7 separate regions of the Homo sapiens genome follow, and all the other regions are linked to region 1. The links are contacts of gene promoters, found by promoter capture Hi-C in blood cells and fetal thymus (Javierre and others, 2016). All regions are on one chromosome and are shown on one strand. Each heading gives the region's core, a stretch centred on a gene start or on the middle of the fragment in contact. The rest is flanking DNA. Distances are from core to core; before and after follow the strand shown.

What was found. Contacts are between HindIII fragments. The CHiCAGO score rates a contact against its expected background, and 5 or more counts as called.
Region 2: a contact is called between a fragment that was not itself captured here and the fragment with the promoter of STAM in region 1, in 5 of 17 cell types (neutrophils, naive CD8 T cells, naive CD4 T cells and 2 more). The highest score is 8.4, in neutrophils.
Region 3: a fragment that was not itself captured here is called in contact with the fragment with the promoter of STAM in region 1 in 1 of 17 cell types (monocytes); the score reaches 5.2 in monocytes.
Region 4: a fragment that was not itself captured here is called in contact with the fragment with the promoter of STAM in region 1 in 1 of 17 cell types (monocytes); the score reaches 11.1 in monocytes.
Region 5: a fragment that was not itself captured here is called in contact with the fragment with the promoter of STAM in region 1 in 1 of 17 cell types (monocytes); the score reaches 6.1 in monocytes.
Region 6: a fragment that was not itself captured here is called in contact with the fragment with the promoter of STAM in region 1 in 1 of 17 cell types (monocytes); the score reaches 6.5 in monocytes.
Region 7: a contact is called between a fragment that was not itself captured here and the fragment with the promoter of STAM in region 1, in 4 of 17 cell types (fetal thymus, M1 macrophages, M0 macrophages and 1 more). The highest score is 10.4, in fetal thymus.

The regions. Positions count from the first base shown.
Region 1 is chr10:17,642,292-17,645,650 of GRCh38, reverse strand. It overlaps STAM (signal transducing adaptor molecule), which reads right to left and starts at 1,500. Exons shown (of 14, transcript NM_003473.4): 1 at 1,272-1,500. The coding sequence starts at 1,311. STAM-DT (STAM divergent transcript) reads left to right here and starts at 1,733. Exons shown (of 1, transcript NR_110370.1): 1 at 1,733-3,359. RefSeq lists enhancers at 1,486-1,605, 1,756-1,825, 1,248-1,897, 1,898-2,546. The HindIII fragment of the contact is 8,791 bases long and covers 1-3,359 here.
Region 2 is chr10:16,793,050-16,796,408 of GRCh38, reverse strand. All of the region lies in intron 2 of RSU1 (Ras suppressor protein 1), which reads left to right. Among named protein-coding and RNA genes, the nearest start is that of RSU1, 23 kb to the left of the region's middle. RefSeq lists enhancers at 453-512, 723-942. The HindIII fragment of the contact is 3,505 bases long and covers 1-3,230 here.
Region 3 is chr10:18,324,717-18,328,075 of GRCh38, reverse strand. The region is part of intron 2 of CACNB2 (calcium voltage-gated channel auxiliary subunit beta 2); the gene reads right to left. Among named protein-coding and RNA genes, the nearest start is that of CACNB2-AS2, 65 kb to the right of the region's middle. The HindIII fragment of the contact is 4,487 bases long and covers 1-3,359 here.
Region 4 is chr10:18,303,064-18,306,422 of GRCh38, reverse strand. All of the region lies in intron 2 of CACNB2 (calcium voltage-gated channel auxiliary subunit beta 2), which reads right to left. Among named protein-coding and RNA genes, the nearest start is that of CACNB2-AS2, 43 kb to the right of the region's middle. The HindIII fragment of the contact is 1,147 bases long and covers 1,179-2,325 here.
Region 5 is chr10:18,287,052-18,290,410 of GRCh38, reverse strand. The region is part of intron 2 of CACNB2 (calcium voltage-gated channel auxiliary subunit beta 2); the gene reads right to left. Among named protein-coding and RNA genes, the nearest start is that of CACNB2-AS2, 27 kb to the right of the region's middle. The HindIII fragment of the contact is 5,609 bases long and covers 1-3,359 here.
Region 6 is chr10:18,269,915-18,273,273 of GRCh38, reverse strand. The region is part of intron 2 of CACNB2 (calcium voltage-gated channel auxiliary subunit beta 2); the gene reads right to left. Among named protein-coding and RNA genes, the nearest start is that of CACNB2-AS2, 10 kb to the right of the region's middle. The HindIII fragment of the contact is 1,057 bases long and covers 1,196-2,252 here.
Region 7 is chr10:18,216,568-18,219,926 of GRCh38, reverse strand. The region is part of intron 2 of CACNB2 (calcium voltage-gated channel auxiliary subunit beta 2); the gene reads right to left. Among named protein-coding and RNA genes, the nearest start is that of CACNB2-AS2, 43 kb to the left of the region's middle. The HindIII fragment of the contact is 3,237 bases long and covers 41-3,277 here.

The DNA of each region.
Region 1 (3,359 bases), core at 251-2,750:
ACACTCATTTAAGGTGGAACAAAAAAGGTAGCATCTAGTAAGTGCCAACCACATAAAGGTACTGTAGCAGGCCCTCTAGACATATTATTTAACTGCAGAATGGAATGATGTGTTTTCCCCTCTTTAAAGACAAGAACACTGGAACTCAAAGAATTTAACTTGCCTATGATTTCACCGTGAGCTGAGAAGTGGCAGAGGTAAGGAGTGAACTTTTTTCTACTCTTATATAAACTTCCAAGTTTCAGTGACATGCTCTAAGGAAGAGTTTAAAAAGAAAAATTCAACATCCACCTTTCATAATTAAAATACACAAAGACAAGTAAATTCATAAGGTTGTCCTTATTCACAGTAATGATTACATTCTGCCATAAGGGATTTGGAAATGGTATTTGGCTTGCTTTCATTCCACACTTGTGTGCCAAGGTAGTTCCTACGTGCGTTCAAATTAAACCAAAATTCTCTCCCCGGAAACTCAAATTCCCATAATTATTATCTTCAAGTCAGAAAAAAATAAAATAAAATAAAATTAAAAACCAAAAGCAAACCTATTGAATTGACATCATCAGTACCTAATACCAGTGATTCAGAAAACAACAAAAATGTAGCATTTCAAACTCTTTCCAGATTCAACAACTTCTTCCACACTTCTTTACACCTTTTAAAGTGCAGAGACCTAGCCTAAGAGAGACATCCCAAAGGCTCAGGTCCTCAATTCGGTTTCAGTCGTTGCCAAGTATTTCATCTTCATCGCTCCTAACATGTTTGAGAGTCTACCCTTAACCAGAGCTCCCTCCTTCAGTTACCGTTACAAAAGATTTTAAAATCCTCTAAGGAACCTTACCTAAAACATTCTGCCAGTTCCAGACGCTCAACATTTATTTGTCTAGGCAAGCACTTTTGGTACAGGGTTTACAATCCTAATCTAGCCAACATACGCCTTAAGCCCTTCGCTGTTCTTCCAGAAGCACAGTCCCTGCACCAGATGCTACACCAGCTGCTCCTCCCAGGCCCTTTACACCAACCCATTCAGCAGTTCTTTGGCAACCTACAGTCCTAGCTCAAGGCCCATTTCACAGGATGAGTCCCATTTCTTTCAAAGAGGATGCGCCAAGCCCTCAACCTCCTCCCAGCTCTGAAGGAGGGAGCCTCAGGAAAGGGGAAGAGCGAGCTCTTCCTTGGCCCTGGCCCGAGGGTCCTGAATGCAGGCAGGGGCTGGCAGAGTGAGCGTGCAGTCCGGTGAGGAATGGGCAGGGAGAGGCAAAAACACTTACCAACATCCTGATCGAAGGGATTGGTGGCAAAAAGAGGCATCTCCGCTGCGTGCCGAGGTGTCCCCGGGGACTCCCTCTCGACAGCACGGGAGTCAGAGCTCGACGTAGGATGGAAGACTCCTCAGGCAAAAAGAGCAACAGAGACCGACTCTACAGGGTCCGCGACAGCTCCTCCTCTCACCCAACCCCACCAACCGCGGCAGCAGCTGCGGCGGCGGCAACAGCAAGGAGCCGAGGAAGCCCCCGCGCGGAGCTTGTCGGGAATCTGGGCGACCTTGGCGCTGCCTGTCTCAAAGCTGCCCCGAGCCTGCCCCATCGGTAAAGGCTGAACAGGGAGTCCCCTCTGCCTGACTCCTCTTTTAATTAGTCACACATAAGAGTGGAATTAGTTCTTGTGTTTTCTGCTTTTCCCTTGGCTAGGAGTCTCCGTAGGACGGGGTCCTTCAGGCGTGCTGAAGCCTACTAACAACCCCAGGAGTGACTGGGAGAGCCAGGAGAAAGAAAGCAGGTTGAGTTCGGGTCGAGCTGTGCGCCTTTTTTCCTCTCGCTCTCTCGGTTATCATAACCTTGTATTCCCTCTGGAAGGAAATGGAAATTCCTTTGGATCATCTTCTAGGTAAACAGTTTAATTAGCTGCGTGAGGTGACAAACTTGCTCGGATGAAGTCATGGGAGCTGAACGAATTGGCCTGAATCCCAAGAGGGGAGTGTTCAGGGCGCGCGTGTCCCTCGGAGAGGCTGAGGTAACGCTGGCTCCTTCCCGGGAGTCCCTGAACGCCCGGCTTTGGAATCTGCAGACAGCTCTTCTAGCAGGGCGTTGGCACCTACTGACTAACCGTGCAATCACTCAGCAGCTGTGATGGTTGGTGACATGTCTTTCACAGCCCAAGATAGCCTCCCTAGACTGAGCAAAAAAAAGAAAACAGAAAAAAACTGGAGCTAAAAGTTGATCAGTGAGTGATTCCTAGCAACCCAAAATGTTGGTTTATTTATTTTACTTATAAGTTTAGTTAACCAATAAAAATTATTCTCTGTGTGATGGAGAAGTTTTAAGGAGCATCTACTAGAGATGTTGCGTCCCACTTGGAACAAACTTAGTAAGCACATCTTGTACGTAAATGGAAATTATCCCGCAAATTACGGCATCTCCAAATGTAGCGTGGAAACTAATATTGACATGTCAACACAGGATTAATACATAGTAATCAAAGAGTGCTTAAAAATTCATTAAAAATGAAGTCCCACCTCTAAAAGTGAAATGTGCAAATTAAAGTAGCAGTTAGATAATGTTTTGTCATTTAGGTAAAAATTACAAAGAATCGGCCGGGCGCGGTGGCTCACGCCTGTAATCCCAGCACTCTGGGAGGCCGAGGCCGGCAGATCACCTGAGGTCAGGAGTTCAAGACCAGCCTGGCCATGGTGAAACCCCGTCTCTACTAAAAGTACAAAAAATTAGCCGGGCGTGGTGGTGCGCGCTTGTAATCCCAGCTATTCGGGAGGCTGAGGCTGGGAATCGTTTGAACCCGGGAGCGAAACTCCGTCTCAAAAAAAGAAAAAAATTGCAAAGAATCAGGGATGTGAGGAGTCAGACACTCACATACTGTTGGATGAAGTGTAAATACTGTATAATCTTCCTAAGGGAAATATTTGGAAGCATGTAAAAAAATTTTTAAAACCTTAGGACCCAGCAATTCCATTTCGGCAAATTAATCCTAAAGACATTCTTTTAAAACATGAACAAAGGTATACATGGCAACATTGTCTAAAGGATCAAAGCATTGCCAGCCATTAAATGTCCCACATTGAGTGATTGGACAAATTGCTTCACCTCTTGGTGTCTCAGTTTCCTCATGTGTAAGAAACAGGAATAATAGGGTTGTGAGGATCAAATGAATTAGTACAAGCAAAACGCTTATTACAGTGCCTGGCATAGAGTAAGCACTAAATAAGTGTAACTGATCACTGTAATTTACACTGGTCAGTTAAATCATAGTACATAAGATGTGAAAACTACACAGCCATTTAAGGTGCATAATACAGATTCATATTTACATAGACATCTGAATACACAAGTTTTCAGAAGGAAGTT
Region 2 (3,359 bases), core at 229-2,728, 850 kb after region 1:
GGACTGGAGCAGGACTGGGAGAAGAGACATCACACACAGTGAAGACGTAGCGAGGCCCTGGAGCAGATCAGAAGAAACACACCTAAGTTTGACTTAGGGGCTGATTGATGATCAATGTCAATCTAGGTGACTGGTTATAGGATTGGAGAAGGCAACACTTGGAGGCCAGGATAAGGGATGACATGTGGGGAGAGAATCAAAATCCAAGGTTAAAAATAATGGTTGAGCTGCCTACGAGACCAAATCATGTTTTGCCTTCGGGTAAGAGCAGGTGGCACACCATGGTCTTCTAATATTTAGTGACTGTTGAGGGACTTAGAACTCTTAGAGCTCCAAGAGTCATGTGGCTTTTGTACAGACAGCAGGTTTAGGATTCCAGCTCCTCCTGCTTGAAAAGAAGGTTTACTTTTCCCAGGGAAATGTGGGGCCAGGTTCAGGTGAGAAGTATGGGGGAAGGTTGAGGCGGACGCAGAGAGCTGCTGCTCAAGCGGAGAATGGAGAGTGATAGAGAAACGTCTGACATCAGCCCCTGGGAAGAGGGTGCCGGTGCCTCACCTGGGCGGCTTGTTTAGGGGTCCGGGGGGTTGAAGATACACCCAATTTTCTGAAATGCAAAGTGTGCACAGTTAATACTGCTCATGTCTTAACTTTGGCAAAAAAACAACCTGTGTACTTAAACTCCTTGTCTTTTGAACATCATAAAATGCCATGCAGTTGGCAAATTGTGGATGCAACCGGTGGCATATTTGTTTAGCCAGTAAGACAGTATCAGAATTAATCAGCTTCTTGTTTGGAAACAGCTTTTAGGGGGTTCTCTCTGCTTACTAGTTCTGAAATCACAGACAAGTTACATAACCTCTTGTGTCTCATTTTTCTCATCTAAAATTGAGAGGGAAGAAGAGACTACTATTGCCTTGTAGGGTTATCGTGAGAAATAGGTGAATTGATAAAGTTCTTAGAACTGTGCCAGTCATGTTTTAAGCATTTGGTAAGCATTAGCTATTGTTGTTTGTTATTACCTTATTTTTTTTTAATTTTTTTTTTTTTTTTTTTTTGAGATGGAGTCTCACTCTGTCGCCCAGGCTTGGGTGCAGTGGCGCGATCTCGGCTCACTGCAACCACTGCTTCCTGGGTTCAAGCAATTCTCCTGCCTCAGCCTCCCCAGTAGCTGGGATTACAGGCACCCACCATCACACTTGGCTAATTTTTGTATTTTTAGTAGAGATGGGGCTTCACCATGTTGGCCAGGCTGGTCTCGAACTCCTGACCTCAGGTGATCTGCCTGCCCCGGCCTCCCGAAGTGCTGGAAATACAGGCATGAGCCACCACGCCGGGACTGTTCTAACATTTTTGATTCTAGTGAACACATATGTAAAGTGCTCAGCACAACACAGTGATGTAGTGGTCATTACATAAATAATCTTTTTTCTCTCTTTTATTTGTTTCATTTTAAAGATGAGGAATTTGTGCTCCAGAACAATCCAGTGATTTTTCTCAGGATCTCATGGGATGACAGGGCAGGTCTCACCTGCTAGGAACTGTGCGTTCTTTGCTTTGCTTTTGTGTCTTATTTTATTCTAGATAGGAAGGAATTTTCCATTCAGGTTTATATTATTTTTATTATGGTTGGAATTGCTGTCATAAAGGACATTCCATCCAGGTGTCAATAATAATTTTCCAGTTTGCAAAGAAGAAGCTCAAGATTTAGAATCTGGAAACCTTGATTGTACTCTGTTCTGATTCTGCTGGCCCGTGGAATCTTAGAATACCTTTACTTCTCTGGCCCACTGTTTTCTTATCTGTAAATTGAGGAGCTTAAGTTGTTTGATTTCTAGAGTTCCTTTGGCTCCAACATTCTATAACCATGATTTCTAAAACTGCATAAGTTTTGTGTTACACAAATAAAATAGTTTATGCTAGAAAAATTAGTCAATACAAACAAGCTAAAAAGAAAAAAGAAGAGACAGAGGAGGAAGGTAGTTAGAAATAAAACAAAATGGACTCTGGTCCTTGAAGGTTTTATTAACCCTAAAAAAATTTTCAGGCACTTCCCTTTTAATGGGAGTTTCAAAGCACCTTAGTACTTTTATGGTACAAGTCTGCCTGTCAGAGTTCTCCAGAGAAACAGAATCCATAGGCAATATATATATGGAGATTTATTATGGAAATTGGCCCAGGTGATTATGGAGGCTAAGAAGTCACATGATGTGCTGTCTGCAAGCTGGAGAACCTGGACAGTTGGTAATGTAATTTAGTGCAAGGCCAAAGGCTGGAGAGTCATAGGAGGGGTGCGTGTCAGTGATGCAAGTCCCAGAATCTGAAGGCCCAGGAACCAGGAACTCTGATGTCTGAGGGCAGGAGAAGATGGATCTTCATGAATTCTCCCTTCCTCTGCCTTCTTATTCTATTGAGGCGCTCAATGAATTGGTTATTGCTCACCTGCATTGGCAAGGGTAGGTCTTCTTTACTCAGTCCCCTGATTCAAATGCTAATCTCTTCTGGAAACACCCTCACAGACCCTGGAAAAGAACATTTTACCAGCTATCTGGGTATCTCGTAGCCCAGTCAAGTTGACAAATAACATTCACCATCACTTTCTGTATTGTATCCTAGTGTTTTATTTCATCTCCTTATTGCAGAGGAAGCTCATTGAGGGCAGCAGCTGCATCTCACTCATATTCTATCCCTGTCCCACCAAAGAAGTACAGTGGCTTGCAGAGTAGCTGTAGCTCACCAAGTTTTGTTAATACCATCCAGTGACTGCATATCTTAGGTGGCTTACTATATTTTTCTCTTTAATTCTCTCAGGCATCTTCAGAAATAGTTTTTCTGTGTATTTTTTCCTGGAGCAAAAACTGTGTGTTTGGACAAGAATGATGTGGGCTCCATAATTTAAATACCAGTGTCTTGGGTCTGTCTGTCTTCTTTCTCCTTAATGTCCTGATGGACTCATAGACTCCAATTAGTGACCAGCTCATGGGGGGTTCTCAAGATAGGTGAATTTGCTGCTATTATGTGTAGAAACAGGGGCCATCTTTTTTTTTCAGTTGTCATTTATGTTCAATTGTTTTGTCATTGATTGAGAGAGGACTTAATTGTGATTGATAGACCCTTTATCTATAAATAGTAGAATTCAGTCAAGTATTCAAAATTTCAAGTGTTTTGAAAACTTACTACTGAAGAGTTTCAGTAACCCTGCACACTAATTAGTTGTGAAATAAGGAAAAGCTTTCATCCCACCGTGATATTTTAAAAGTTTTACCTTATGAACAAAATTCAGAAGAAAGCTTTTTATGATTCTGGTGTGTTGGTGAATATGATATTTTTATTATTTATTGATATCAAATATTTTATTGTCT
Region 3 (3,359 bases), core at 305-2,804, 680 kb before region 1:
GAGGTTGGATCTTTTCAGGTCCTCTTTCCAGAACTGGCTACAAAAGCTCACCACTTACCCCTAAGGCAGCCCATCTTCTCATATCCTATCTGCTTCAAGAATTTGACACTTCTGATATGTCTTCAACTTCCACTCTGCCTTTCCTCAGGCATTTGACAAAACTTCCCCTTGCCCTGAAGTCTTGAACTAGCCCTGCCAGGACACCCCCCAACCCTCAGTCCTAGCTCCAGAGGCTCTAGTGTGCCAAACCCTGCTCATCTGTAAGAAGAGGTTAGTCGGATACTGCCTTAAATTTCTGTCTTCAGCAGAATACAGGGTATAAATGTGGTCATTGAAAACATGACTGGGGCTGGGCGTGGAGGCTCATGCCTCACCTGTAATCCCAGCACTTTGGGAGGCCGAGGTGGGCAGACTGTTTGAGGTCAGGAGTTTGAGACCAGCCTGGTTTCGTGGAGAAACTCCGTCTCTACTAAAAATACAAAAATTAGCTGGGCACGGTAGCATGCGCCTGTAATCCCACCTACTCAGGAGGCTGAGGCAGGAGACTCGCTTGAGTCCAGCAGGTGGAGGTTGCAGTGAGCCGAGATCACTCCACTGCCCTCCAGCCTAGGTGGCAGAGGGAGACTCCGTCTCAAAACAAATAAAAACAAACAAACAAACAAAAATGACCGGGCAACTTAGGATTTCCAGATGTGCATATTTCTACAAAAGAGCATTTAGGTATATCTGATATTTTTGGAGGCTGAAGAAATAAATAGAAATAAAATCATGTTATTTTTATTATGAAAATATAATGGATATACTTACAAAAAACATGTTCTTTATATAATTAATAGGTATGCTCTTTTGTGGTCACTTTTCTTGGACCCTCAAATCCACAGGTGCTCTGGAATAACATCAGAACATATTTCAAATCTTTAAGTCAAACAGAATGAAAACCAATCTGGAATGTTCTAGGATACCATTCTTTAATATCATGGAAATTTGACTTATCAGTCTTCAAGGAAGGGTGGCCTATGGGAATGCTTAAAAAAAAATCATTACTTTCACTAGGTGCAGTGACTCACGCCTGTAATCCCAGCACTTTGGGAGGTTGAGGTGGGCGGATCACTTGAGTCCAGGAGTTCAAGACCAGCAAGGGCAACATGGCAAAAAAACCCGTCTCTACCAAAAATACAAAAAATTGCTGGGCATGGTGGCACATGCCTGTAGTCCCAGCTACTCGGAGGGCTGAAGCGGGAGGATTGCTTGAGCCCAGAAGGTCAAGTCTGCAGTGAGCCCTGATCACACCACTGTACTCCAACTTGGGCAACAGAGTGAGACCCTGTCTCAAAAAAATTATTACTTTCTACTTTCTGAATTAACATGAAGGAGCATAAATAAAATTTTGAAGAGGTTCATGTGGTCAGAGGGGTAAACTGTCATATTCCAAAGAAAAGTGAAGATATCTTGAAGTAAAACTTCTTCCAAGTGAGCTGTGCTTATTAAGTACCAAATGGGATCCAATTTATTTGCAGTATTTAATCTAATGCAGTCAGAGGGCATAGCAGTTCTGACGAAGTCTGATGAAGGAGGAACTCTGTTTACTTCCACCCGCTCCTTCTCCCTGGATTAAAACACCACGAATTTTCTGCTCTTTGCTTTTCTTGAATAAGTTACCAAAAAAGAGCAGAACTAAGTCAACACCAAACTGCCCTTTGGATAAACAAGATGGAGCAGATTTATTTACCTTGGAACATGATTTTGAATTCAAGCCATGAAGTACACTGGAGGAATGCCTTACATCTACTAATTATTCATTTTGGAATTCCAATTTTGACTCAAGGTAATATTTGCATGTTTTATTTATTCCTAATCATTCAGTCCATTTTTTTCCTTTTTAAAACTGCTTTATTTTTTTCTGTTTCTGTACACTAACTCTGAATAACTGTAGTAGCTCATATCTTCTGTTAATGATTTATCTTGAAAATAGAAGACAACAGAGTCAGGTTAGCATAGGACTAACACCGTAGGAATCAACATGAAGAAAAAATAGGTTTCAGCTAGGCACAGTGGCTCATGCCTATAATCTCAGCAGCTTTGGGAGCCCAGGAGTTTGAGCCCAGGAGTTCAAGACCAGCCTGGGCAATATGGAGGAATTACATCTCTACAAAAAGTACAAAAATGAGCTGAGCATGGTGGTGTGCGCCTCTGGTCCCAGCTACTCAGGAGGCTGAGGTGAGAGGTTGGCTTGAGTCTGGGAGGTGGAGGCTGCAGTGAGCTGAGATTATGCCACTATACTCCAGGCTGTGTGATAGAGCCAGATGAAAGAAAGGAAAGGGAAGAAAGGGGAGGGGAAGGGGAAAGGGAAAGAGAGAGAAGGAAGGAAGGAAGGAAGGAAGGAAGGGAGGGAGGGAGGGAAAGAGAAAGAAAGAGAGAGAGAGAAGGAAAGAAAGGAAAAGAAGGAAAGAAAGAGAAAGGAAAGAAAGAAAAAAGACAGAGAAAGAGAGAAAGAAAAAGAAGGAAAGGAAAGAAAGAAAAGAAAAGGAAAAGAAAAGAAGGAAGAAAGAAAGAGAAAGAAAGACAGACAGACTAGGTTTCATCTGGGTGTGGTGGCTCAAGCCTGTAACACCAGCAACTTTGGGAGGCCAAGGCAGGAGGATTGCCTGAGACCAGGAGTTCAAGACCAGCCTTGGCAACGTAGCAAGACACTATCTCTACAAAAAATTTAAAAAAAAAATTAGCTGGGCATGGTGGTGCATGCCTGTAGTCCCAGCTACCTGAGAGGCTGAGGCACAAGGATCCCTTGAGCCCAGGAGGACAAGGTTATAGTGAGCTATGACTGAGCCACTGTACTCTAGCCTGGGAGACAAAGTGGGATCCTGTCCCTAAAAAGACAAAAACCAACTAGGTTTGAGGCAAATGACTTTGCTTTGTAGGTCAGTTTCTGCAACTAAAAAACGGGGATGCTCTGGACTAGCTCTGGCTACATGACTGGGGGACCCAGTTCACACTGAAAATGTGGTGTCCCTTGTTCCAAATTATGAAGGATCACAGCAGAATAATAGCAGAGCAGTAATCCAAGTGTGGAGCCCTTCTCAGCACAGGCGACATGCTCATGAAGCTAATACTAATAGCACATCTTTCATGGCGTAAGAGTGAGGAATAAGTAACATATGTAAAGTGCTAAGTATAGTGTCTGGCACATGTAAGGTTTTTGTTGTTGTTGTTTTGACATGGAGTCACGCTCTGTTGCTCTGATGTCCAGGCTGGGGTGCAATGGCACACTCTTAGCTCACTGCAACCTCTGCCTCCTGGGTTCAAGCAATTCTCCTGCCTCAGCCTCCTGAGTAGATGGGAATACAGACGCATGCCACCAC
Region 4 (3,359 bases), core at 503-3,002, 660 kb before region 1:
AACCCTTTACATATTTATCTATGTGTTCCGCTACCCTCTAATTCTTAATTCTTTCAAACCCTAGACCTCTGTATTTGTCCTATCTTCTACTTTCTCCAGAAATTTGTTCTGTGTCTACAAATATACCTACACGTTCCCTCAACTCACTTCTCCTCAAGTGATTGTGGCCATACTTCCTCCTTCTAGAAGGAGGCTATATTTGCTTGTTTCTACTTTCATCACCCACACGCTCCTTATAACTCACTGCATCTGTGCCTGACTTCCACCATCCTCTTGAAACTCCTCTCCCAAGATCACAATTAAATGCCTGCTTGCTGAATTCTGTTTTGGCCCCCTGGCTGTCTCTTCTCTTCCTCCTGAAATGTTCTGCACCCTTACTTATCAAAGTGTGAAGCAGGACCCTGTTTCTTGTCTGACCTCCTTGACAACTTATCACTTTACTTTTCCTTTTTTTAGAGATGGGGTCTCGGTCTGCTGTCCAGGCTGGAGTACAGTGGCACAATCATAGCTCACTGCAGCCTCCAACTCCTGGGCTCAAGCGATCCTCCCACCTCGGCCTCCCAACACTTATCATTTTTATATGCAGCCTCTTAACACGTGAGAATTCCTCAGTTACCCTTCTTCTCCCCCTATACCTGGGGTCACAAATGTCAACCATGAGCATAACCTGGCTTCCAGATGGGTTCTGTTTGACCTACAGAGTGAGGTTGTTAATTTTTACTGAAGCCAACACTTACAAATTAGGAGGTGTTACTTAAAATTGGGACTTCCAGTTTGTCTTGAAAACTAACTCACACCAGCTATGGAATAAGGATAGAAGAAAGTAGAATGTGAAATTGATATAAATGGCTATTACATGGCAAAGTAATAATGAAAGACTGTCTTCTTTCATGACTTAGGAATCAAAAGATACGTTCATTGCAGATTTCGAGGATTTGTGCTGAGATATTATTGAGTTAATTTTCTCTGTATTCTGTTCTCATTTTTGTCATACTTAGCCAAATCTCCACTTCAACAGCCCCAGTTACATGTTTTACCTTATATTATTCTCCAATCTTATTTCAAAAAGGATCTGCTTCAGGGTCCTTCAGTTTACTTTTCCTCTGAATATTGAACTTAACCAATAAAAGCTGCCTTATGAAACAAGTGACATAATAAAACAATAGATAATGTAAGCTTTAAATTCCAAATTCTGTCTCAGCCTCATAGCATTTACTGTCCATGAAGTAGACGACATTTATTTCCTGTAACCCAAAGGCTTTCCTTGTTCTTAATTTTTAAAGTGATGAAGTTCCCACAGGGGAGAATATAAGAAAGGGAATGAGATAAAGGTGGAAACATGGAAGAATTGGAATAAGAAAAATCATTTTCATTCATTCTTCTTTTTACTTCCTTGTATAAGACACAAAAATATATGTTTGGCAGTAATGAGTCCTAAACTTCTATTTCTCAAAGTTGACATTTCAATTTCCATTACATCTTATTCCAAGAATAATGCACACATCTTTCTGCAGAGGAAATAAAAAGTGGGATTGAAATGTACAGCATGACCTGTGAGGAAAGGGACCGCCCCTGTTTTAATTAAGGAAGAGCAGAGAGAGAGATTTCTTCATGCTTATTTAATTATGTTGAAATGTTATCCCACAAACCGTAAGTTTTAAACTCCTAATAGCATCGAGCTAACATTCTTGCAAGATTTACTTATGTTTTGGAAATAGAGCTTTATACAGAATACAGAGAGGATGATCGCCTGTGCAGCGGCAGGCAAAGTCAAGGTTGTGTTCGCTGCCTTTGGTTCCTTGCCTTGGTGTTTCCCTAGCCCACGAAGCCTGGTTGCCAGGCAACCAGGGCAGCTTTGCTGAATATAGATATTAACAGGTTTAGGTTACATTGGGAAAAAAAAATGGAGTGAAAAAGAGCACAGGCTTATCCTTCACCTGGAAATTTGGGGAAACAAACAATGTTTTCAATGCAATATTTGAAACAAAATGTATTTAATACCTTTCTTAAATGTGCTGAATACTTTTTTTAAGCTCCACAACTCTTAGGTGGTATAAACATAGTTCATTTCCTCATTTGAGATAATATACTTGCCCATTGTGTATTGAGAAATAAACTTGTCCACTGCCACCATGACTTGCAATTCTACGTATGAAAACACTGATTAGGCCGGGTGAAGTGGCTCACACCTATAATCCTAGCACTTTGGGAGGCTGAGTCAGGAGGCTCGCTTGAACCCAAGAGTTTGAGACCAGCCTGGGCAACATAATGCAACCCTATCTCTACAAAAGATTAAAACATTAGAAGGATGTGGGGGTGCAAGCTTGTAGTTCTAGCTACTCAGGAGGGTGAGGTAGGAGGATCGATGGAGCCTGGAAGTTTGAGGCTGCAGCGAGCTGTGACTGTGCTACTGCACTCCAGCCTGGATGACAGAGCAAGACTCTGTCTCAACAAGCAATACTAATAAAAAATAAAAACACTGGCGGTTTTTCTAGATCTTGAATAAATTTTAATCTCATATAATGTTGCATAATGTCAAAACTCTTACACAGACATCATTTTCTTTGCAATTCATTGTCTGAGGTGGGTAGGACAGGTTTAACGCTCCCCCACTGAACGGACTGGAAAACAGACTTCATGAAGATAAGTAACTAGTGCCACAACTAGTCAAGGGCAGCGCTGGACACGCACCCCCAAGGACAGCCTGCCTTAACAGGTGTTGCCTCTCAGTATTTTTTCCAGGATAACTGAAAAAGTAGCAGAAAATGAAAACCTTCATATGGGTTGCCTTCATACGGGTTGCACAGCTTCTAAGAATTCAGTACTGGCTCTTATGAAGAGAAGTAAGTGACATCTGAGACACGTGGCCCTGGATTGTGTTTCTTTTTTCTCCCTTTTTTTTAATTTTCTTTTGGTTTGAGATGGGGCCTTGCTCTATCACGCAGGCTGGATTGCAGTGGCGTGATCATGGCTCACTGCAGCCTTCCCAACCTGGGCTCAAGCGAGCCTTCTATCTCAGCCCCCTGAGCGGCTGGGAACAAAGGCGTGCACCACCATACTTGACTAACTTTTAATTATTATTTGCAGAGATGACGTCTTACTATGCTGGCCAGGCTGTTCTTGAACTCCTCAGCTCAAGTGATCCTCGCACCTTGGCCTCCCGAAGTGCTGGGATTACAGGGATGAGTCACCATGCCTGGCCTTCTCCCTTTCTTAAACATTTCTCACATCCTTATCTTTTTGCCAGCACTCCCGCACAGCCATGAGAGAAAAGCAAAAACAAGAATAAACTGTCTATTCCTTCAACTCCAAAGGTGACACCAGTAGCCAACAAGGACATCCTCCACTGTGAGTGCCAC
Region 5 (3,359 bases), core at 644-3,143, 640 kb before region 1:
TTATATGCACAAAGACATTTATATATACTCAGCCTCAAGCAATCTGGGAAATAGGTATTAACATAAACACTTTAAAGAAAAGGAGGCCAGGCTCAGTGGCTCATGCCTGTAATCCCAGCATTTTCGGAGGCCGAGGTGGGCGGATCACCTGAGGTCAGGAGTTTGGGACCGGCCTGACCAACACGGTGAAACCCCGTGTCTATAAAAATACAAAAATTAGCCAGGCATGGTGGCGCGCGCTTATAGTCCCAGCTACTTAGGAGGCTGAGGCAAAAAAAAAAAAAAAAAAAAAAAAAAAGAAAAAGAAAAAAGAAAAAAACTTTAAAGAGAAGGAAATTAAGATACAGAGATGTCATATACCTCTCAAAAAAGATCTATTAAGTCAAAGGAGTGCTTTTTAGACTCTTCTCTCACTGAAATCAAATGGCATCTGGATTTTTTTCTTTCAGTCTCTTTCAACCTACTCTAAAAGAATTGCTCATCTATATATTTTTAAAGGACCATATGTTGCCCTTATGTGTCTAAGAATTCTTTGGAATTATGGTTCCTACTTATTTTAAAAATAATAATGTTCCAGGACTCCTCAAAAAACATATTTTGGAGTAAAATTTTATAAAGGATAGAACAACTAAAGGGGGCCACACAGCTAAACGTCACGTAAATATCAGTGCTATCAGCAGGGGCTTAAGCCACTGATAACTCTGTGCCATCCATCCATCCAGCATCTACAATTATAATAGCTACCATTTGCTGAAAATGTTCTCTGTGGTAAGTATTTTACATTTTTAAAAATCTTACTCAAAATGAAGACAACTTTGGCCGGGCGCGGTGGCTCATGCCTGTAATCCCAGCACTTTGAGAGGCTGAGACGGGCAGATCACGAGGTCAGGAGATTAAGACCATCCTGGCTAACTGGGTGAAACTCCATCTCTACTAAAAATACAAAAAATTAGCTGGGTGTGGTGTCAGGCACCTGTAGTCCCAGCTACTCGTGAGGCTGAGGCAGGAGAATGGCATGAACCCGGGAGGCGGAGCTTGCAGTGAGCCGAGATCACGCCACTGCACTCCAGCCTGGGCAACAGAGTGAGACCCCATCTCAAAAAAAAAAAAAAACAAAACAAAAAAACAAGAAAAAAAAATGAAGACAACTTCGTAAGATTGATTTTGAATGATTCTGGATTTTTTTGCTGGGGAGGGGGTCGGGGGTAGAGGCAGTATTAACCAGCATTTGATTTTAAAAAAGCAAAACTTGATATTACAACTAAAGTTGCAGATATGAAATTTTTAATCAGTTCAAAATCAGAAGAAAAATTAAAATAGACACAAAACTGGAGAAAAATTTTTTTACTTTACTTTTCTTTGTTTTGAGATGGAGTCTTGCTCTGTCGCCCAGGCTGGAGTGCAGTGATGCCATCTTGGCTCACTGTAATCTCTGCCTCCTGGGTTAAAGCAATTCTCCCACTTCAACCTCCTGAGTAGCTGGGAGGACAGGCATGTGCTGCCATGCCCGGCTGATTTTTGTATTTTTAGCAGAGACAGGGTTTCACCGTGTTGACCAGGCTGGTCTCGATCTCCTGACCTCAAGTGATCTGCCCACCTTGGCCCCCCAAAGTGCTGGGATTATAGGTGTGAGGCACCGCGCCTGGCAGAGAAAAGGATTTTTTAAATAAAAGAGTGCCTTGATTCTGCATCTACTGGGTATCTCTGTGTGTGTGTGTGTGTGTGTGTGTGTGTATAAATCTCATTTGCTGCATCTTGCTATAGTTGCCTAAAAACTATGTTTTTTCTCCTCAGGGAATACAGTACTCATGGTTGTTCAATAATTGTGGTTGACTAATTGGTTACAGTTCCATTAGGAAATTGAAAACAGTATTTTGAATATAATTTTCAGTTAAAATTTTCTGCAATACTACTCAAAGATGAATAAAGCAATTTGGAGCCTGATCTTTTGACTAAAATAGGAATGCAAGAGATTACTTATTTGTACTTTTCACATTTCAGAGTTCTTAAAACTCATAAAGGGATATCCAGCACAAACACAGTGTGTTAGAAGAGAGTTGTATGAAAGTAAGACTAGACCATGTAACTCTGGACAAATTTAATTCTAGAAATATTTAGTTTCAAAGTAAACCTGAATTTGTGTTCCTTTGAATTACAATGTTCTGATGTTGTTATGGGTTTGAGTTATGACCCCACAAAAAGCTGTGTTGAAATTCTAGGCCTTAGGACCTCAGAATGTGGCCTGATTTAGAAATTAAGGTCTTTACAGAGGTAATCAGGTTCAAATGAGGTCACTAGGGTGGGCCTTAATCCAATATGACTGGTGTCCTTATAAAAAGAGGAAAGTTGGACACAGAGACAGACCTGCACAGAGGGAAGATGATGTAAAGATACAGGAGAAGACAGCACGTGATTGGAGTGATACAGCTAGGAGCTGAGCATTGCCAGGACTGTCAGCAAACACCAGAAGCTGGAGTAGGCAAGGGAGAATCCTCCCCTACAATCATCAGCAATAGCACAGCCCCAGTAACACCTCTGTTTTTTTGTTTTGTTTTGTTTTTGAGATAGGGTCTCACTTTGTCACCCAGGCTGGAGTGCAGTGTCATGATCATAGCTCAGTGCAGCCTCAAATTCCTGGGCTCAAGCAATCCTCCCAACTCAGCCTCTTAAGTAGCTGAGACTACAGGGCGTGCCATCGTGCCCAGCCGATTTTTGTATTTTTTGTAGGAATGGGGTTTTGTTATGTTGCCTAGGCTGGTCTTAAACTCTTGGGCTCAGGTGATCTGTCCACCTTGGCCTCCCAAAGTGCTGGGATTACAGGCGTGAGCCACTGCGCCTGGCCCTGTTTTTGAATTTCCAGGCTTCAGAGCTGTGAGACAGTAAATTTCTGTTGTATTAAACCACACCATTTTTTGGTGCTTTTGTTACACCAGCCCTAGCTAATACAGATGTCAAATCACTAACACTCCCTTCTCCTTTTCCATGACTCTTTGGAGTATTCCAAGCTCCTTTCATTAATGTCACTGTAAAATGTTAAAGGGAAAAATGTCAGAATTTATATTTGTGACTTGATTTTTTTTTTGAGAAAGAGTCTCGCTGTGTCAAACAGGCTGGAGTGCAGTGGTGTGATCTCAGCTCACTGCAACCTCTGCCTCCCATATTTAAGTGATTCTCGTGCCTCAGCCTCCTGAGTAGCTGGGATTACAGCCACAAGCCACCATGCCTGGTTAATTTTTGTGTTTTTAGTAGAGACGGGGTTTCACTATGTTGGCTAGGCCGGTCTTGAACTCCTGACCTCTAGTGATCTACCCACCTCAGCCTCCCAAAGTGCTGGGATTACAGGCGTGAGGCACCACACC
Region 6 (3,359 bases), core at 475-2,974, 630 kb before region 1:
CCCCTCTCCTGACCTGGGGAGATCAAGCCAGGTCACTCTGATCCCCTCTCCTAGGAACTTGAACCTTGAGACACTTGACACCAGTTGACTTGAGGTGAGCTGACTCACCTCAAAAGATAGACTCCAAGGAGCCCAGCCACAGTTCCCAATACTGAAATTCTCAGAGCAGCCCTGATCCAACCTTCAGCTTTCCTTCCATAGCTCTGCTGTTGGCCAGTAGCCCTCAAAAAATAGTGATGCACAATGAAGTCACATTGAGAGATTATTAAACATTAAATTATCAGGATCCATCCCTGAGATTCAGAGTCTATGAGTCTAAGATGGTTCCCAGAGATCTGCATTTTTTTGGGGACCAACATCCCTGGGAATCCTAACGCTAGTGACCCAAAGTACACACTAAGAAGCTGTATTAGTCCATTCTAATGCTGCTAAAAAAGACATACCTGAAACTGGGTAATTTATAAAAGAAAGAGGTTTAATGGACTTACAGTTCTTCATGGCTGCGGAGGCCTCACAATCAACGGCCGAAGGCAAAGGAAGAGCAAAGGGACATCTTACATGGCGGCGGATAAGAGGGCTTGTGCAGGGGAACTCCCCTTTATAAAACCATCAGATATTGTAAGACTTGTTCACTATCATGAGAACAGCATGAGAAAAATCTGCCCCCATGATTCAATTACCTCTCACCGGGTCCTTCCCATGACTCGTGGGGATTATTACACTTCAAGGTGAGATTTGGGTGGGAACACAGAGCCAAACCATATCAGCAGCATTGCTACAAACCTCCAATAAATTCTATCTTTTAAATTAGAAAGAGGTGATTTCTAGTATGTACCACCGAATTATATTATCCACCCTCTCTGAAGTTTTTTGGAGGGTAATTATGAATATAGAGGCATAGAACCTTGGGGGAGAGGAAGGGAGAGATCCCACATCTTCCAAGTAGATTCTTTTAGCTCACCATTCCTTGACATCTTGCCCTGTCTCCCTTAACTACGAGCCTTGAAAGTCATTAAGAAGCCTTTGTTCTAATTAGAACTATGTCCCACTCCTCTCTGTAGAAAAAAGATTGTGATCCACTCTTTCGAATAGCTATCACATTGTTTCATAATATCATATCTGCTCCAAAGAAAAAACTGATTCACCCAATAATGAAACTACCATAGAGAAGTCAATGGGACACTCTGGGGAAGCTTCACAGACTCACTGGAAATATTACTCCCTCCAGAAAAAAAAAGAAAAAAGAAAGGAAGAAAGAAAAAAATGGTAAGAGATGGAAATTACAACAGAACCCTTGTCCCTTACTCTCTTTATTCAGGTTTATTGTTTGGAAATCAGGGTAGGTTACATAAATTATTTATTCCTTTGGTGGTATGGAGGAGAATGGTGACCTGCTCATCACAAAAGTGCAAGGAAGAAAAAAACCCCAATAAACAAAAAATAAAGCTACTTCTGATGATTCAAACAGAAGAGAATTGGCTGTTATCTCAATGTAATACCAAGGAAGAGAACACACACAGGAGTCTGGCTCAATGGGAAACAGATCTATTCAGCAGAAAGGTTAGCGGGCAATGAAAGCCTCTAAACCAACAACACAAAAGGCTGCTTCAGAGAACGGCTACCTGCCTGTGCTGCCACCGGGAGAAGGAAGGAGGAAGGACACATCTCCTAAAATAGGAGCTGCTTGTTTTATATATGATAAAGATGTTAGGGAAGGTTTCCATACATATAGCCATTAAAGCCCTTAACTCAAGGCTTTAAATAATCTGGTGGTGTTTTTATTTTTAAATGGCTGTGCTTGAAGATAGGTTTTTGTTTTTAAATATGTTTTTGTTTTTAAACATATTTACCTACTTTTGTAACTGCTGTTTTAAAACAAAGTTAGTTTGTGGCTTTTAGTCAATTTCGTGCTTTCAATCAGAACTTAGATCTCCTCTGCACTTCAGTAGGTCCTTGTTATGGGTAAATAAGCTGCTTCTTGCTTTATATTCTTAAAAGAAATACAAGGAATATCATCTAAATCGGGAAAAGAGGCCAAAAGAGGAAATGATTACATAGTTGCAAACTGTAGCAACCAAATTTCTCTTCTACTTTATGCATATCAACCAAATTTCTCTTCTACTTTCTGCATATTGATGAGACCAAGGAACACTTATACCATCACAAAGCTCTGTGTATGTGTGTTTATACACACAAGTATACAGTAAATTTCACATATATCACATAAATCAATGAAGTATCTAGGGGAAGCTTCATAGACTGACTGAGAGCATTACCCCCATCCCCCAAAACGACATATTATAATGACAAGTAGGAATAAAGAGGTAGTAGTGAAAGAGTAAAAATTTGATATTTCCCCAGCATTATGTATATATGTATTCAACCATTACGTCTTGAGTGTCTGTCAGAGGCCAGGCATTCTTGCTGGGCAACAGAGATACAACAATCAAAAAGGGAATGAAAGAAACTTAAGTTCTAAGATGGGCAGACAACTAGAGGGATAATTAGGATAAGGTAGGGTAAGTGTTATGATAGGGGAAAAGCAAGGATACCTAACCGAGACCAGGGAACAGCCTCTGTGGAGGAGCACAGGCAAATAAAAGAGTGTTGATTGTTAGGAAACTGTATGAAATTCAATGCCACTGGGGGACTCCAGAGGATGAAGGTGCTGAGAATTAAGGCTAAGGAGACAAGCAGTGGCTTGATCAAGAAGTGTCTCATAGCAACATTGCTCAGATTGCACTCATATTCTCAGAAAATGGGAACCAACTGGGGGCTTTAAGCAGAGAAATACCATGATTGCTCTTGAAAAAAAATCACAATGGCAGTTCCAATGTGGAGAATGGATTGTTGAAGGATGAAGACTAAGATGGGGTGACCAGTTAGGAGGCTGCTGATAGAGTTTGGCTTTGTCCCCACCCAAATCTCATGTGGAATTGTAATCCCCATAATCCCCCCTTGTCGAGGGAGGGACCCAGTGGGAGGTGACTGGTTAATGGGTGCAGTTTCTTCCACATTGTTTTTATGATAGTAAGTTTTTATGAGATCTGATGGTTTTATAAGGGGTTCTTCCCCCTTTGCTCTCTACTCTCTCCTGCCGCCACGTGAAGAAGGTCCTTATTTCTCCTTTGCCTCCTGCCATGACTGTAAGTTTCCTGAGGTCTACCCAGTTATGAGGAACTGTGAGTCAATTAAACATCTTTCCTTTATAAATTATCCAGTCTTGAGTACTACTTTACAGCAGGGTGAGAATGGACTACTGCAGTTACTGTGGTAACTGGGGAAGAAAATAACAGCCTGCACTAGGATGGAGATAGGTGGAATAGAAAGAAAAGATTCCAGAGCTCTCAAGGAAGTAG
Region 7 (3,359 bases), core at 410-2,909, 570 kb before region 1:
GGCATGGTGGCGGGCATCTGTCCCAGCTACTCGGGAAGCTTGAGGCGGAGAACTGCTTCAACTCGGGAGGTGGAGGCTGCAGTGAGCTGAGACTGTGCCTCAGCACTTGAGCCTGGGTGACAGAGTGAGACTCTGTCTCAAAAAAAAAAAAAAATGAAAGATTTGCCAGAGAAAAGCCAGAAAGCCAGAGATAAGATGAATAACAGTTGGAAGCTATTGAAGTTGAGGGAATTATAAGTGTAAAAAATGACTAGAATATATAACAGTTGAATTTCCCCAAGTTTTTGTATTCTAAAGGAGGCCCCAATTGGCTGTTTAATCTACAAGTCATGTACAGAGCCAGATGGAAATTACTAATATGTTCCTCTGTGCAAGTCCACTTCTGGTGCTGGACAACTTGTCCCAGGGCTATAGGCATTAACAGGACTACAGTAAAAGGATTAGGAAAAGAATTCTCTAGAACTATATTTAAAAATTAACAATATTTAGTCTTTGGAGGCTGACTTTTCTCAGAAGGTCAAATGTCTTTGCCAGCAGCACATGGAAACTGAATTATCAGGTCATCTGGTTCTCTCCTATTTTTCATCACCAGCTCAAATCACTTCATTCCCCACCCTCAGAGAACAATGACTGCTGAGTCATTTAATATTTGAGGCAAAAAAAGGAACATGTTATAACCAGCAAATCTTTGAAATTCACTTGTGACAAGAATGGAAAAATACCATTCCGAATTCTGGAGGTAGAAGTATTTTTTGTGTCTTTGAGACAGGGTCTTGCTCTGTTGCCCAGGTTGGAATGCAATGGCATGATCATGGTTCACTGGAGCCTCGACCTCCCAGGCTCAAGCAATCCTCCTACTTCAGCCTCTGAAGCAGCCAGGACCACAGGTGCACACCATTACACCTGGCTAATTTTTAAATTTTTTTGTAGAGACAGGGTTTCTCCATGTTGCCCAGGCCGGTCTTAAACTCCTGGGCTCAAGAGATCCTTCTGCTTCAGCCTACCAAAGTGTTGGGATTACAGGCGTGAGCCACTGTGCTTGGCCAGAAGTACTTTTTTTTGAGATGGAGTCTCATTCTGTCACCCAGGCTGGGGTGCAGTGGTATGATCTTGGCTCACTGCAGCTTGTGCCTCCAGAGTTCAAGTGATCCTGCCTCAGCCTCCCAAGTAGCTGGGACTACAGGCACGTGCCACCATGCCTGGCTAAGTTTTTGTACTTTTAGTAGAGACGGGGTTTCACTGTGTTAGCCAGGATGGTCTCAATCTCCTGACCTCATGATCCACCCAAAAGTACTGGGGTTACAGGCATGAGCCACTGTGCCCTGCCCAGAAGTATTTTGAATAGCAGATAAATTTCAGACAGACACATAAGGTACCTACATGCACACACATGCACACACACAGCTAATTGAATGGCAGTGCTACACATACACATTCATACAGATCTCTGGGCCTCCATTTTCTTATCTACAGAATAAAAATGTTATAACCAAGAACATTTAATGTCTCTTGGGATCTAGATTGTGAACAATCTATACTCTTACTATGTCAAATAAATTGTATGGAATTCAGTGATGGCAATCAATAATCTGGAAAACAAATCAGTTCGTCTGTCTGACTTAATCAGTAGGTTGTTTAATTGAATTGATTTGTCAAAATATTATGCTGTCACTCCAGTAAGGACAAAAATACCTTCAGAATTCAGTAAGACCAATTCTCACAAACAATGTACATTTGTTAGAGACTAGTCCAACAAGAAATATTTCTATTAAATTGGTAATGACATGTTAGACTGAAGTGGTCTGCCTCAGGCCTTTGTGATCACAACAGCAGTGTGCACCATCTGTTAGAATTCAGTTCTCCCCCAAACCTTTAGAATGTCCTGCAAAATATAATACAGGGAATGAAGAGCATATCAGTCATGACCCAGTATTATACCGAAGACACAAGGGGCTCTTCCTAGTAGTGTGAAATTCTTACTGAGAAACTAAAGCATGCACCACCATCTCAACCAAGAAAAGGCTACCAAGGGTAACGCAGGGGCAAGCATTTCCTGGGGTGGAGACAGGGTCACAAGACATATTTTAGTGCATGAACTGGCCTGGTTCCCCTTCCCACCTCTCCTCCTTCCCTCTTTCTGCTCCAGCTACACTGGCCTTGGTATATCTGAACACACCAGTCACATGGTCTTTAGGCCTTCGCAATGGCTGTTCTCTCTGCTTGGAATGTTCTCCTAGATAAGCATGTGATTATTTTCTCACATCAAGTTTTGCTCAAATGTCACTCTGTCAGTGAGGACCATCTTGACCTCCCTGCTTAAGATGGAAATACACACTCTGACTTCCCTTATGCTCATCTCCATTTTCTTTTTTTCTATAACATTTATACAATTTTGCCATACTAAACAATTGACTTGTTTATTTTATTTTCCTTTCTTTATTTTGAGATGGAGTCTCACTCTGTCGCCCAGGCTGGAGTACAGCGGCACGATCTTGGCTCACTGCAACCTCTGCCTCCTGGATTCAAGTGATTCTCCTGCCTCAGCCTACCGAGTTACTGGGTCTATAGGCGCACACCACTCTGCCTGGTTAATTTTTGTATTTTCAGGAGAGATGGGGTTTTACCATGTTGGCCAGACTGGTCTCGAACTCCTGACCTCAGGTGATCCACCAGCCTCGGCCTCCCAAAGTGCTGGGATTACAGGTGTGAGCCAGCTTGCACAGCCGACTTATTTATAGTATTTGTTTATAGCTTTATCTACCAACCAAAATGGAAGCCCCATGTGGGAAGGGGATTTCCTGGGGTGCACACAGGGTCCCAAGAAATATTTGCTCACCAATGCATCTCATATGCCTGCCTAGAGCAGAGGTGAAGTAAATATTTATTCAATAAACGTATGAAAAGATAAATGAATAAAAAGGTTCTATTTATATCCTAGAAAGGATCTCTGGGTTATTGCTAGAAAATAGTTCAACTTGACCCAAATAAATGAACTGGTTAAATAAGATACTTATAGCACTTCCATTCTGACCTGGTCTCACATGTAGGTTGTCATTGGTCCTATGACCTGGGCAGAAATGTATAACTCAATGTATTTATTTATGCTTGCTTTTAAGGAATTTTTCATGAGACCTCTGTTTTGGAATTTGGAGAGATTAAGGAATAGCTGAATTTCACATAATGGATTTTTTAAAAGCCATGAGGGGTTATGAGAGAATGGGAAGGAGCCAGCAGATGGCACTCTGGCCTTCCTCTCTCCAGTCTCAATGAACAAGCTTTGCATTTATGTTCTTCTGCACAAGCTATCACTGAAAAACAAAGAAAGAAAAACAAGTGTTTTACAAAAACTAAGTGTCTAT